2 separate regions of the Homo sapiens genome follow, and region 1 is linked to region 2. Evidence: promoter capture Hi-C in 16 types of primary human blood cells and fetal thymus (Javierre and others, 2016). All regions are on one chromosome and are shown on one strand. Each heading gives the region's core, a stretch centred on a gene start or on the middle of the fragment in contact. The rest is flanking DNA. Distances are from core to core; before and after follow the strand shown. Region 1 holds the start of LOC105374260 (a long non-coding RNA gene). Region 2 holds the start of MASP1 (MBL associated serine protease 1).

Region 1 (6,959 bases), core at 2,902-5,401, 71 kb after region 2:
CTGAGATCATAGAGATGGTACCTGCAGGAAGAAACCACCAACCCTAGGGCTGGGGAAACAAAGGTAAGAACCTGGAGTTAGAAATTAGAAGCTTGGAAAAGGGGCCCTATGGGGCCAGAACCTGAACCGCTGCAGAAGAGTCTAACGTGCTAAGGAAAACAGCTGGAAACAATGGCCACTACTGGGGTGAAAAACCACTGCCAGGGATGATGCCAACAGCCAAAGCAAGTCTTCCTGCCTTTCTGAAAGTGCCCCCTGTTTTCAGGAAACCAGCTAGCAAAGTAGAACTGCCCACTTCAGAGTCTCATCCCTAGTACCACAAAGCAGAATGTAGAAGGGTAAGTCTCAAGCTGGGGGACAATGGCTTAATACTCAGCACAGGCCGGGCGCGGTGGCTCACGCCTGTAATCCCAGCACTTTGGGAGGCCGAGGCGGGCGGATCACGAGGTCAGGAGATCGAGACCATCCCGGCTAAAACGGTGAAACCCCGTCTCTACTAAAAATACAAAAAATTAGCCGGGCATAGTGGCGGGCGCCTGTAGTCCCAGCTACTTGGGAGGCTGAGGCAGGAGAATGGCGTGAACCCGGGAGGCGGAGCTTGCAGTGAGCCGAGATCCCGCCACTGCACTCCAGCCTGGGCGACAGAGCGAGACTCCGTCTCAAAAAAAAAAAAAAAAAAAAAAAATACTCAGCACAGGCTCAAACACCACTGTGACCATTTCCCAGCTGGGTGATCTTCAGGAAGTTATTTAACCTCAGTAAGCCTCAATCCCCTTACCTCTAAACTGGAGATGCTATCCCATGTGGTGGCTGTGGCATTTCCGTGTTTGAGATAATACTTAAACATAGGTGACCCATGTCAGCTGGCTTCCTTTTCATTCTAATTTCAGTGGTGCCACATCAAGTTCACTTCCTTTAGCTCAAAAGAAAAATGGCTGAGATGTAATCTGAGGAGTATTTAGGGGAACTGAGCCAACAGGAAAGGCACAGGTGTAGCTGGCTTTGACTCATTGGGTGCCATGTGCCCACCAGGTGCTTTATGTTCATTAACTTATTTACGAACCATGCAAGCCTTGCAAGGTGGCACTGTAGCCTCATTTACAAACGAGAAAACTAAGGATCAGCAGGGTGAGGTGACTCACCCGAGATGCAGCTTGTATGAAGCAGATCTAGGGATATAGTACAGGTTTTCTGACTTTAAGCCCAACACTGTTTTCAGTATCCAGGCTCTTTTTCAAATGAGAAAATAATTGCTCTGTCAGTGCTCAACCCACTTCCACATTGCCCCACAGATTTACCAACTTCATAGACTTCTAGAATGTCAACTCTGAAAGGGGTTTTAGAGAATACCAAGTCCAGCCTCCTCATTTTATGGATAGGAAAACAGAGGCTTAGAAGGGGAGCAGAGAGGAGGGCTGGCTAAAGGCACCATAGCACATAGTGGACTAGGCTGGGCTTTTTATTTATTCGCTGTTCTTGATTGAGCACCTACTATGTGACAGCATTGCTATAGGCACTGTGATATAGCAGTGACCAAGAATGAGATTCTGCTCTCATGGACCCTAGGTTTCAGACTAGTTGAGGGTGGGACAGAATAGAAAACTAAACAAGTAAGCCAGTAACACATCATAGAAACCAGTGCCCCTAGCTCTGCTGCAGGTAATCTGTAGCCCAGCTGCCTTTCACGTCTTCCTCCCCACCACACCACCTTTCTCTGAGAAGAACAATCCAGTCTTTCCTCCACAGAAGAGGATGATGGAGCTGCAAGCTGCACCCCTCCAAACACCCCACAGATAGCTTCTCTGTTCTCACAGTATCTTCTCTCCTCCAGGAGCCATGGTCATCGTCAGCGGCTGGGGGAAGCAGTTCTTGCAAAGGTTCCCAGAGACCCTGATGGAGGTGAAGTTCACTTTATAACCTACAGACAGTGACACCTCAGCTCTGCACTGGGCCTTCCTGCTCCGTATTGTTCCCTTAGGGATTTTGAGGCTTGGGTGGGGGTTGGTGAGTGGGAAACTAGGAGCCCAGACCCACCTCCAAAGTTCAATGGGACTTTGAACCCCAGAAAGCTTGATTTGTTTGTTCTACATGTCATGGACTCTAGCCTCTAAACACGGTTAAGTTTTTCTGGTAGCTTATTAAAGGCTTAGCTTATGAAAATTCTCCCAGAAAACAGCAAGTTTAGACACCCCCATGGTGACAATCCAGCTGTGCACCATGAGAACTGTACACCAAATTGGCCAGAATGAGCCAGGCTCTTGAGAACCACAGTCCTTGCAGTAATGAACTTGGCAGTTACACTTAGAAGTTCATATTCCTATCAGTTCAAGGAAAAAAAAAAAAAACACTTAACTAAAAGTAAGGAGCCATAGTTTCAAGTCTTGGCTCCCACTAACTTGCTGGGTCATCTGAAGCAAGTTATTTTGCCTCTCTAGACCATAAGATACTATTTCCAACTGCAGAGTTATGGGGCAACACGAGCTGCCATCAAAGAGTTGCTTGGCTCTGATATCACCGGGGCCTATGACTGACACAGCTAGTTTCTAAATTCTTCCACATATATTATTTTGACATATTTTAAAATTTGGGATTTGCAACAACCATTCATCCCTTCATTCACTAACTCCCGGGGGTCTATTTGGTGTTTCCTTGGTACCAGACACTGTACTAGCTACTAGCTGTGCTGGGGTAAAAGGATAGATCTGGTCCCTGGCCCCCTTGGGCTCATGGTCAAGTGGAATGGACAGAAAGTAGTTATGGATGTGATAAAGGTGGAGAGAGAGAAATGCAGGATGCTCCAGAACATATGAAAGAGAATCTGATCTTGTCTCAGGGGTTCAGGAGGCATTCCCAAAGGAAGTGATGCTGAAATGATACCTGAACGATGAATCAGGTGCTCAGCAGTTGCTGAGGATCTGTCCTCAGGACCACCCTGCCCTGGCTTCCTCTCCCCTTATCCAGGGAAGGCCATGACCCAAGAGGGATCTGAATGGCCTCTGGTTTCCTCCCAGCAAGGGCAACAGGAGTTGTCCATTTAGAGAATATGGCCCATTCAGTTCTTGATTTGACTGAAAGAGAATCATATGTTTCCTCTTTTTATTCCAGACATCTACTCCAACAGTTACCCCCACACTGGATCAAGGGCAATAATAGTCACAATGCCTTATTTTTATGTATCGATTTTGCTGCATTGCAAAAAATATATATATTTTCTGGGTATCTACTAAGCTCCAAGCAATGTAAGATAGAAATGCATAAAATACAGATCCAGCATCGAGACAGATGCTCATACTGTAGAGAGGGAGGACAACATAACAAAGTGCTTGCTGCAAAGCCAGCAGTGATAACTCCACAGTAGCTAATATTTATACAGTGTGTGTAGTTTACAAAGCACTTGTTCCTGCCTCTCCTCTTTGTACAATGATTAGTATATCAAATACTGCAACCTCCATTTTTCAGATGAGGAAAAAGGGTCTCAGAGTCTGAAAAACAATGAGTAAGCCACATGTTCTAGGTCCTACAGTAGGGGTGAGACAAAAGAAAACCAAACTTCATTTTTGTATACATTGTCCTATTGACTAATACATCTCCTAGGCAAGTATTATTACCTCTATCTTACTGAAGAGAGATCTGAGGCCCAGAGAGGGCATGTGACTTGCCCAAGTTCACACAGCCAAGGTCTTCACAGCCAAGACTGCCCTAGAACACGGGCCTCCTGATTCTCCATTCAACTGTTCCTTCACCTGTAGCATGGGGCAGTCTCTTAGATCAAGTCTAAGGTAGACACAGGTCCGTCCAGGTATGGAGTGGAGAGGAGCCGTCTTCAGGGGTGTCAGAATAGCAGAGGCTTCTCAGCCGGGGATGAGGACCAATAACAGCTTTGTGTTCTAGATTGAAATCCCGATTGTTGACCACAGCACCTGCCAGAAGGCTTATGCCCCGCTGAAGAAGAAAGTGACCAGGGACATGATCTGTGCTGGGGAGAAGGAAGGTGGGTTAAGAGGCTGGCATACAACAGGGGCGCTGCCAGCCAGGGAGTGGTGCAGAGCCAGCAAGGGAGCACAGAGGCCTCCCAACCTGGTGGGCTGGCAGTGTGGGGGCGCGGGGGACTGGAGGAAGGCCGTGGGAGGAGGGATTCCACAGGAGAAGATGCATCGGAGAAAAGATATTTACAGGATGCTCATCATTCCCTTCCCAAGTTCAGTGTTTCCCTTAAGAAAGAGGCCTTGGCCGGGCACGGTGGTTCATGCCTGTAATCCCAGCACTTTGGGAGGCCGAGGCGGGTGGATCACCTGAGGTCGGGAGTTCGAGACCAGTCTTGCTAACATGGCGAAATCCCATCTTTACTAAAAATACAAAAATTAGCCGGGCATGGTGGCAGGTGCCTGTAGTCCCAGCTACTCGGGAGGCTGAGGAGGGAGAATCACTTGAACCCAGGAGGTAGAGGTTGCTGTGAGCCGAGATCGTGCCACTGCACTCTAGCCTGGGTGTGACAGAGCGAGACTCCATCTCAAAAAAAAAAAAAAAAAGAAAGAAAAAAGAAAAAGAAAAGAAAAGAAAGAAAGAGGTCTGAATCAGGGCTTTTTAGAATCATTTGAGCTCTGATGCGGCCTGACCTAGAACTGCCCAGAGCTGAGGTTTGGGTCCAACGGTCTGCTATGCCCTCTAGTGCCCAATTCTCTGAACTACAACCCATACATGGGAGAAGGAGACTTGGGCTGGGAAGGGGCATTTTATCTTCATCTATGTCTCTTTTTCACCTAGGGGGAAAGGACGCCTGTGCGGGTGACTCTGGAGGCCCCATGGTGACCCTGAATAGAGAAAGAGGCCAGTGGTACCTGGTGGGCACTGTGTCCTGGGGTGATGACTGTGGGAAGAAGGACCGCTACGGAGTATACTCTTACATCCACCACAACAAGGACTGGATCCAGAGGGTCACCGGAGTGAGGAACTGAATTTGGCTCCTCAGCCCCAGCACCACCAGCTGTGGGCAGTCAGTAGCAGAGGACGATCCTCCGATGAAAGCAGCCATTTCTCCTTTCCTTCCTCCCATCCCCCCTCCTTCGGCCTATCCATTACTGGGCAATAGAGCAGGTATCTTCACCCCCTTTTCACTCTCTTTAAAGAGATGGAGCAAGAGAGTGGTCAGAACACAGGCCGAATCCAGGCTCTATCACTTACTAGTTTGCAGTGCTGGGCAGGTGACTTCATCTCTTCGAACTTCAGTTTCTTCATAAGATGGAAATGCTATACCTTACCTACCTCGTAAAAGTCTGATGAGGAAAAGATTAACTAATAGATGCATAGCACTTAACAGAGTGCATAGCATACACTGTTTTCAATAAATGCACCTTAGCAGAAGGTCGATGTGTCTACCAGGCAGACGAAGCTCTCTTACAAACCCCTGCCTGGGTCTTAGCATTGATCAGTGACACACCTCTCCCCTCAACCTTGACCATCTCCATCTGCCCTTAAATGCTGTATGCTTTTTTGCCACCGTGCAACTTGCCCAACATCAATCTTCACCCTCATCCCTAAAAAAGTAAAACAGACAAGGTTCTGAGTCCTGTGGTATGTCCCCTAGCAAATGTAACTAGGAACATGCACTAGATGACAGATTGCGGGAGGGCCTGAGAGAAGCAGGGACAGGAGGGAGCCTGGGGATTGTGGTTTGGGAAGGCAGACACCTGGTTCTAGAACTAGCTCTGCCCTTAGCCCCCTGTATGACCCTATGCAAGTCCTCCTCCCTCATCTCAAAGGGTCCTCAAAGCTCTGACGATCTAAGATACAATGAAGCCATTTTCCCCCTGATAAGATGAGGTAAAGCCAATGTAACCAAAAGGCAAAAATTACAATCGGTTCAAAGGAACTTTGATGCAGACAAAATGCTGCTGCTGCTGCTCCTGAAATACCCACCCCTTTCCACTACGGGTGGGTTCCCAAGGACATGGGACAGGCAAAGTGTGAGCCAAAGGATCCTTCCTTATTCCTAAGCAGAGCATCTGCTCTGGGCCCTGGCCTCCTTCCCTTCTTGGGAAACTGGGCTGCATGAGGTGGGCCCTGGTAGTTTGTACCCCAGGCCCCTATACTCTTCCTTCCTATGTCCACAGCTGACCCCAAGCAGCCGTTCCCCGACTCCTCACCCCTGAGCCTCACCCTGAACTCCCTCATCTTGCAAGGCCATAAGTGTTTTCCAAGCAAAATGCCTCTCCCATCCTCTCTCAGGAAGCTTCTAGAGACTTTATGCCCTCCAGAGCTCCAAGATATAAGCCCTCCAAGGGATCAGAAGCTCCAAGTTCCTGTCTTCTGTTTTATAGAAATTGATCTTCCCTGGGGGACTTTAACTCTTGACCTGTATGCAGCTGTTGGAGTAATTCCAGGTCTCTTGAAAAAAAAGAGGAAGATAATGGAGAATGAGAACATATATATATATATATTAAGCCCCAGGCTGAATACTCAGGGACAGCAATTCACAGCCTGCCTCTGGTTCTATAAACAAGTCATTCTACCTCTTTGTGCCCTGCTGTTTATTCTGTAAGGGGAAGGTGGCAATGGGACCCAGCTCCATCAGACACTTGTCAAGCTAGCAGAAACTCCATTTTCAATGCCAAAGAAGAACTGTAATGCTGTTTTGGAATCATCCCAAGGCATCCCAAGACACCATATCTTCCCATTTCAAGCACTGCCTGGGCACACCCCAACATCCCAGGCTGTGGTGGCTCCTGTGGGAACTACCTAGATGAAGAGAGTATCATTTATACCTTCTAGGAGCTCCTATTGGGAGACATGAAACATATGTAATTGACTACCATGTAATAGAACAAACCCTGCCAAGTGCTGCTTTGGAAAGTCATGGAGGTAAAAGAAAGACCATTCTGGTATGAAGGTTTTGGGGGAGGAGATATCAATCAAGAAGGCTTCCCAGAAGAGGTGACTGGACCAGAGCCTTGTCCACAGGT
Region 2 (6,720 bases), core at 3,896-6,395:
TATTGGAAATGATGCAAAGATGAAATAGGTAGCATGGCGAATTATAAAAAAATAATGCTGACAATTTCAAATAGTGAAAAAAACTAAAAATAAAAACTAAAAACTAAAAAGAAAATTCAACAAATAAAAAAGTTATGGAGCTAGATTATGGGCAATTGCATGGAGATAGTCCATAAGAGCTGGCCAACTTTCACAGTCATTAACTATATTTTTAAGTCTCACATCACAAAAAATAGCTGCTTTTTTTCTTTTACGACATGGCTGTCCTTGGAGAATATGTTCACATTTATTTTCCATGTGACACTGCTCTTTTCAAAATTCTTCTATGGTTTAGTATACAACTACATGAGTATTCCCCATTTTTTCCCATCTTCTGTGCCATGCTTCCGTGTTGTGGGTCTGTGGAAATCTATTCCATATGCACACATATATAGACCACAAATCTGGTGGAAGCAATACTGGTGATTGAACTGCAACAATACTGCCCATCATGCACATAATCGTTTTTGAACCAGTTAGTAACTTCGCTGGCTTCTTCAGGCAAATGTGGCTTTAATTCATTAAAAGCTCCTGGAATGCCATCAGCTGGAATGAATGCCAATACTGAAGTTTTTGTCATTGCTGTATCACGTGACCAGTCCACTCATCTGAAGTTTCTGCCAAACACATTGGACAGAATGGAAAAAAACAAACTTTATTGGTAATACCTTGAAGTTCACCTTTAGAAACCTCAATCACACCTAATTCCAAATCTGTCTTTATGGTTTGAGGATTCAATTGAAATCCATTTTCCTCTGCATAAAGACAGTGACAAAGTAAAGAGTTCCACCTAATATGATGCAACTATCTTGTGATTTTGATTTTGGGGATTTTAGATGTTAGGGATTTAGACTTTAGAGGTTTTGACTTTTTGGAATTTCCATATTTGGGATTATAGATTTCAGGCTTGTGTCTTTCGGGACTATAAACAAAAACTGTCCGAGATGGAGGTGTTGGCAGATTTGGTTTCTTTTGTGGCTTTTATCCTTGGCCTGCAGGTGGCCATCTTCACCCTACGTCTTCACATGGTCTTCCCTCTGTGTGTGTCTGTGTCTTAATGTCCTCTTATAAAGACACCAATTGTATTGGATTAGGGCCCATTCTAAGGATCCCATTTTAACTTAAACACCTCATTAAAAGCCCTTTTTCCAAACACAGTCACCTTCTGAAGTACTGAGGGTTAGAAATTCAACATATGCATTTGAGGGGAATGTAATTCAGCCCATAACAGAGCCTAATCATTTATTTTTTTAAATAGAAGCTATTTTTTGTCTTCTGTAAAATCTTGTAATCACATGACAGCATGGCACATGAATGTTCAGAGTCCACAAGAAGCACGAGAAATTTGCAGACGACAGGGAAGAGCTTTGCACTTGAGATCAGGGGGCCCTGGGCTCTAGACATACATCATTCACTTACAGGCACGGGCAGGCTTAGTTTCTCTGAACCTCAATGTCTTTACTTGTAAAAAAAGATGTGAATACTATATGCAATAATATATATAAAAGTATCTGGCATATACAAATGACATCTTATCAAATCAAAGGTGCCATCAATTATAAAATGTATCATTATGTTATTTGTACCAAAAGTGGCAAAATCATGCCAGGGGAGATTTTCAAATTACAGATTCAGGAGACTTACCCACAGATTCATTGGGTTTGAATCTCCTGGGATGAAGCTCAAAGATTGTCATTTTTTAAAAATATTTTCCCCATTATTCTGTTGATAGACTCAGAAGCCAGGACTTTCGGCATGCTGTCAGTCAATGTGCTGAAGAACCCAGATTTTCATTCTAAGCTGCCATCTTTGGAGCTATTTATCAGTTTCTCAAATATTCTGTAGGAAGCCTGGATTTCAGCCCTTACCAACAAAAAGTCATTGCCCAAATTCTTTACGTTTTCTAACCCATTCATTGAATTCCAGAAGCTCTAGCTCAAAAGTTGCATAAAATAAATACTTTGGTAGAACATGTAAACCAAAACCTCTTCCAGTGGTAGGAATATTGCCGCATTTACCCTTAGTAGGCAGCTCTCTGATCCCTTTCCCGGACTACAGGACTATAGTGCGCGGGTGCTGAGCCCACCTCAGTCATTCTACGCTTTCATGATTCTAAATGATGTCAGTTCCTTGTATGCATTTTTTAATCGCTTTTGCCAAACTCAAAAAACTAGTTGAACCTTTTTAAATATTACTTTTTCTGAATATCTGTGATTAAATTCTTAGTATCAGTAATATTATGAGCACAGAAAAAGCCAATGTCAAGATTATTAGAGCTATTTTGGACTCCTTGACAATCTTTTAGGTCTAGCAAACTACCTAACCCCCTCCCAACGACATCATTTCATAGTCTTCATATCCACATGTTGATATCTATGATCTCAACTGAGTCCCACCCCCTGATTTCATAATTGAACACACTGATGCCCCACCCCTCCACCCCTCAACCCCCACCCCTGAGAAAGTAAGTGACTTACCCAAGGTCACATGCAAGCTGGCCTATAGTCACTGAGCCCAGTTCTGTTTCCAGCCTAATGTCCCTTCCATTCCTCCCACCCCTGATGACCCATGATCTCTTAGTGACACTTCAGGGAGATTCATCAAAAGCATCAGACAATATGTAGTGTAACCAAGTAGAAAACTGTCCTGAATCACATGCAGATCATTCCTGGGCCACGTAGTTCCTGTTTTTATGCAGATTTCCTCTGAGCCTTGGCTAACTCCCAGGGAAGCGCACATATCAGATCTGCTATATATTGGCAGAACTTTGGCTTAGAACACATCTCGAATGCTTTCCATTGAACATTGGCAGCCTTGAAGAAACATGGCTAGAAAATTATTCCAGGAGGCCTAATTGCTCTGTGACACTTTCCAAGGAGAAGCTGATGGCTTTCTCGCCCAAGCTCTTCCCTCTGTACCCAGAACAAATGACTGCAGTTCCCAGTATATGCCCTAAATTAGGAGAGGGCAAACTCCGTGGCAGCATGAATTGAGGGAATGTCTTTACTGGGCAGGGGCCCTCTTCCCAGCACAGTGTGCATTTTGCCAAGCTCTTTCTCCTTCAGTTTTAAAACCCTTGTGTATTCCAAGAGAAATGTCGTCCATGTGTTTCTGATTCATTTACACGTAAATCATTAAAATGTTGTTTTGTGAGAGTTATTTAATGTGTGCGGAGCCTGTGAGTCTTCTTAACGGGAATGTTAAAAGCTTTTTTTCCTGTGCTGACTGAGACAGAACACATTTTGCTAAAACAGTGCCTGAGTTCAAACATATCCTCCCATCTCATATACTTGTACCTGCTTTATCAACCACAGCCTCTTGATAATGCCAAGCTTGGCAAGGCTGGCATTCAAAAGTGTGAAAATTAGAGAAACTGGAGAGAAAATGGAGTAAGAAGTACAGTGAGAGTCAAGCCACTGTTCCCCAGAACGTGCCAAAGGAACGTTATCTGAGGGTAGACAGTGCATGTGTCTGCCGCTTTGGTGAGTGTGGCTGGCAGCCCTCTCTCTGGTACTCCCCTGGACACTTCTACAAGCACAGTCTTATTTAAGCCTCATAGTAACTCCCATTTTCCAAATGAAGACACAGAATCAGATACCTTAAGTATTGTGCCCAAAGTACACAGCTGTCTTGGGTAGAAAGGAAAGATTACAGCTAAACTCTGAGTCTAATCTTCTTTTCAAAATGACTCAGATTGAGTTTCTCTATGAATGCCGTCTGTGTGTGTGCATTTGAAATTCCATATGCATTATAAAATGTTAATGAGTAGCAGTGTAATACAGTGGCTAACACTTCAAATTCTGCCTCTATTACTTTCTAGCTGTGTGAACTTGGGAAAGTTACTTAACCTCTCTGGGCAATTTCCTCTGAAAAATGAGAATATTGCCAGCCATGTATACAACATATAAAGATGACTGAAAAGAATTCATATATTAAGTGCTTAGAGCAGTGCCTGACACGTAGCACTCAATAGCTGTTAGCTTCTAGTGCTAGTGGCAGTGGGGAGTCATAAATAACTGGATGATCTTGGCAAGTGGCATATTCTCTCTGAGCCTTAGTGTCCTCACTTGTAAAATGAGTATAACAGCAGCACTTTCACCAGTTTGCAAAAGTAACTTGAGATGATGTTAATGACTAGTACTGTGTCTAACACAGAAAAGGTGCACAGTCAAACTTAACTTTTACACCCAGATACACCTCTCCCTATTCAGTGTTGGTTGTTGTTGTTGTGGAGGGGGTAATTTTCTTATTATTCAGCTCATCTTAGATCTAGTGTTGATTTCTCCGGAAGCCATGGGTATAGACATATATACAGGCCCAGGTCTTTCTACACCCCTGGGGAGGTGAGATTTCTTGCTGCGATGGGCCCTTTCTGGGCTGGAGTAGAGCCGCACACACTCCGAGCAAGTAAACAGTGCCACAGGTATTGCTCATGGGGAGGAACAACCAGCCAACTTCAGGACTTGGTGCTTCCCCAGTTCCGGGCCCGTGGCTCTGTTCACAGGAAAACCTGTCGTTGTGTGTGACTCTGATCACGAGAAAACCTGTAGTTATTTGGGGCTCTGCTCACAAGGAAACCTGTAGTTATTTGCAGACAGACGCTCTGGGATTTAGACCTTTTTTTTTTCTTCTAGTGTAGGTGCTAGAATTGCCTTCTTAGTTGGTTGTTTCTATTTAATTGCTTTTCTTTCATGGGTGTCCTGAAGAAAAGCAGAAAATTATAGTCATCTGGCAAAAAAGACTAAAGAGAAATTAGACTTTGTCCCCTTTCACTCTCTCTCTCTCTCTCTCTCTACACACACACACACACACACACACACACACACAGAGTGATACAAATACCTGCTTGAGCCCCTCAGTTATTTTCTCTCAAGGGCTGAAGTCAGCCACACAGGATAAAGGAGGGAAGGGAAGGAGCAGATCTTTTCGGTAGGAAGACAGATTTTGTTGTCAGGTTCCTGGGAGTGCAAGAGCAAGTCAAAGGAGAGAGAGAGGAGAGAGGAAAAGCCAGAGGGAGAGAGGGGGAGAGGGGATCTGTTGCAGGCAGGGGAAGGCGTGACCTGAATGGAGAATGCCAGCCAATTCCAGAGACACACAGGGACCTCAGAACAAAGATAAGGCATCACGGACACCACACCGGGCACGAGCTCACAGGCAAGTCAAGCTGGGAGGACCAAGGCCGGGCAGCCGGGAGCACCCAAGGCAGGAAAATGAGGTACGTGCCAGGGGAGGAGAGGGCACGGTTCCCTTTTGGGGACCAGTGTCAAATAGCAGGGAAGGTCTGACCTTGTCACTGACAGACTCACCTGCGTGTCCTGCATGTGGTAGTGAGGGGCTTTCTCATCAATTCTTAGGGCTCTGAGAAGGGAGCTGTGGGTGGGCTGGGTGCCTTCCCCAGGACTCCAGGAGACATAAAACTTGAAACGGGAGACTTCGTGCAAATCCTGCTCCGGACGCTGCTGAAGCTCAGATTTCTCCCACTGCCTGCACAGGGTGCTGCCTGCTGGCGAATGTGACTCTCCTCCTGTTCACCCACAAGGCTGATTTTTCCGTGTTCCTCCTCTGGAAAGAGCATTGCTTTCTCTCTTCCAGCACTTTGTGAGTTAGATATGTGTTTGTGTGTTCATTCCTTCTGACCAGAAAAGAAACCAGCTTCCCATAGCTTGGCTCTGTGGTTTCTTCAACCTTTACAAGTTTGCCAGTTAAACCTCAATTTAGAAAACTAAAAATCTGTCCCCATTTTACAGTTCCCTATAAATTTTCTGCATTTCTCATTGAAATCAGAGGCAGCTGGTGGCATGAATCAGGCTATGAAGTACACCAAATGGCTCTTAAAGAGATATCATACTTAAAAAAAAAAAAAGGATTTTAGAGTTCTGAAATCAAGAACTTCAAATTCTAATTGGTTTTAAACTCTTTAACCTTTCTTATTCCTCATTATACTTGACACTCCTTACCAGACCTTTCATACAAGTTCTATCCTGCAAGTCTGAAAACCCAACCACCCTAGTTATTTTTATTAGTTAAGTGTTAATGCTGTTACACACACACACACACACACACACACACACAATGCTCTGCAGATGTGTAAGTCCCTAAACACATCTTTTACTATTAATTTTCTTTTCACTTGGGAAAGTGTTTTTATTTGTTTCTCTTCTGCAAAGTAACCTAGCAACTTTTCTGGACCTGAGACCAATGAGAGGCTTCAGACTATGTTAACTCTTTGAACTCCGATTACCTGTGGTTCAGAGAGATAACCAGGTCCTTAAAAAGTGAGTGCAATAATTCTGTTCTTCTTAAAGCCATAGTAATTTTAAACCTGCCATTAAACATCATTTTTCTTTCTCCAAAAAAAAGTGATTTATGTCAATCTACATTGAATGATAATCTCATTTATCTGTCAATGATCTGGTCTGAATCCCACCCTACCATTCAGTGCCCCAGCCCATATCAAACTACTTGGCTGAGTAACAATTCTGTATCTTTGCATATGCTCATCCCTCAACCTGGAGCAACCTTCTTCTTTATTTTCCACCTAGAAGACCTGATTGTTCAAGCTGGCACAAATATCTCTTTCTCTCTCCTGACCACCATATTCCAGAGTGAGCATCCCCTCCTTTGTCCTTTGTTCTGTTTCTGTCCCTTGAAGCTGCATCTCTTATTGTCCTTGTAGTATCC

The links. Contacts are between HindIII fragments. The CHiCAGO score rates a contact against its expected background, and 5 or more counts as called.
Region 1: a fragment that was not itself captured here is called in contact with the fragment with the promoter of MASP1 in region 2 in 1 of 17 cell types (megakaryocytes); the score reaches 5.9 in megakaryocytes.

What each region holds. Positions count from the first base shown.
Region 1 is chr3:187,218,067-187,225,025 of GRCh38, reverse strand. LOC105374260 (a long non-coding RNA gene) reads right to left here and starts at 2,000. Exons shown (of 3, transcript XR_007096209.1): 1 at 779-2,000. It also overlaps a transcript of MASP1 not described here. The HindIII fragment of the contact is 4,160 bases long and covers 2,072-6,231 here.
Region 2 is chr3:187,290,162-187,296,881 of GRCh38, reverse strand. MASP1 (MBL associated serine protease 1) reads left to right here and starts at 5,145. Exons shown (of 11, transcript NM_139125.4): 1 at 5,145-5,254. The coding sequence starts at 5,250. It overlaps LOC101929130 (a long non-coding RNA gene), which reads right to left and starts at 5,610. Exons shown (of 2, transcript NR_135551.1): 1 at 5,346-5,610; 2 at 1-656. RefSeq lists an enhancer at 792-1,368. The HindIII fragment of the contact is 4,632 bases long and covers 3,374-6,720 here.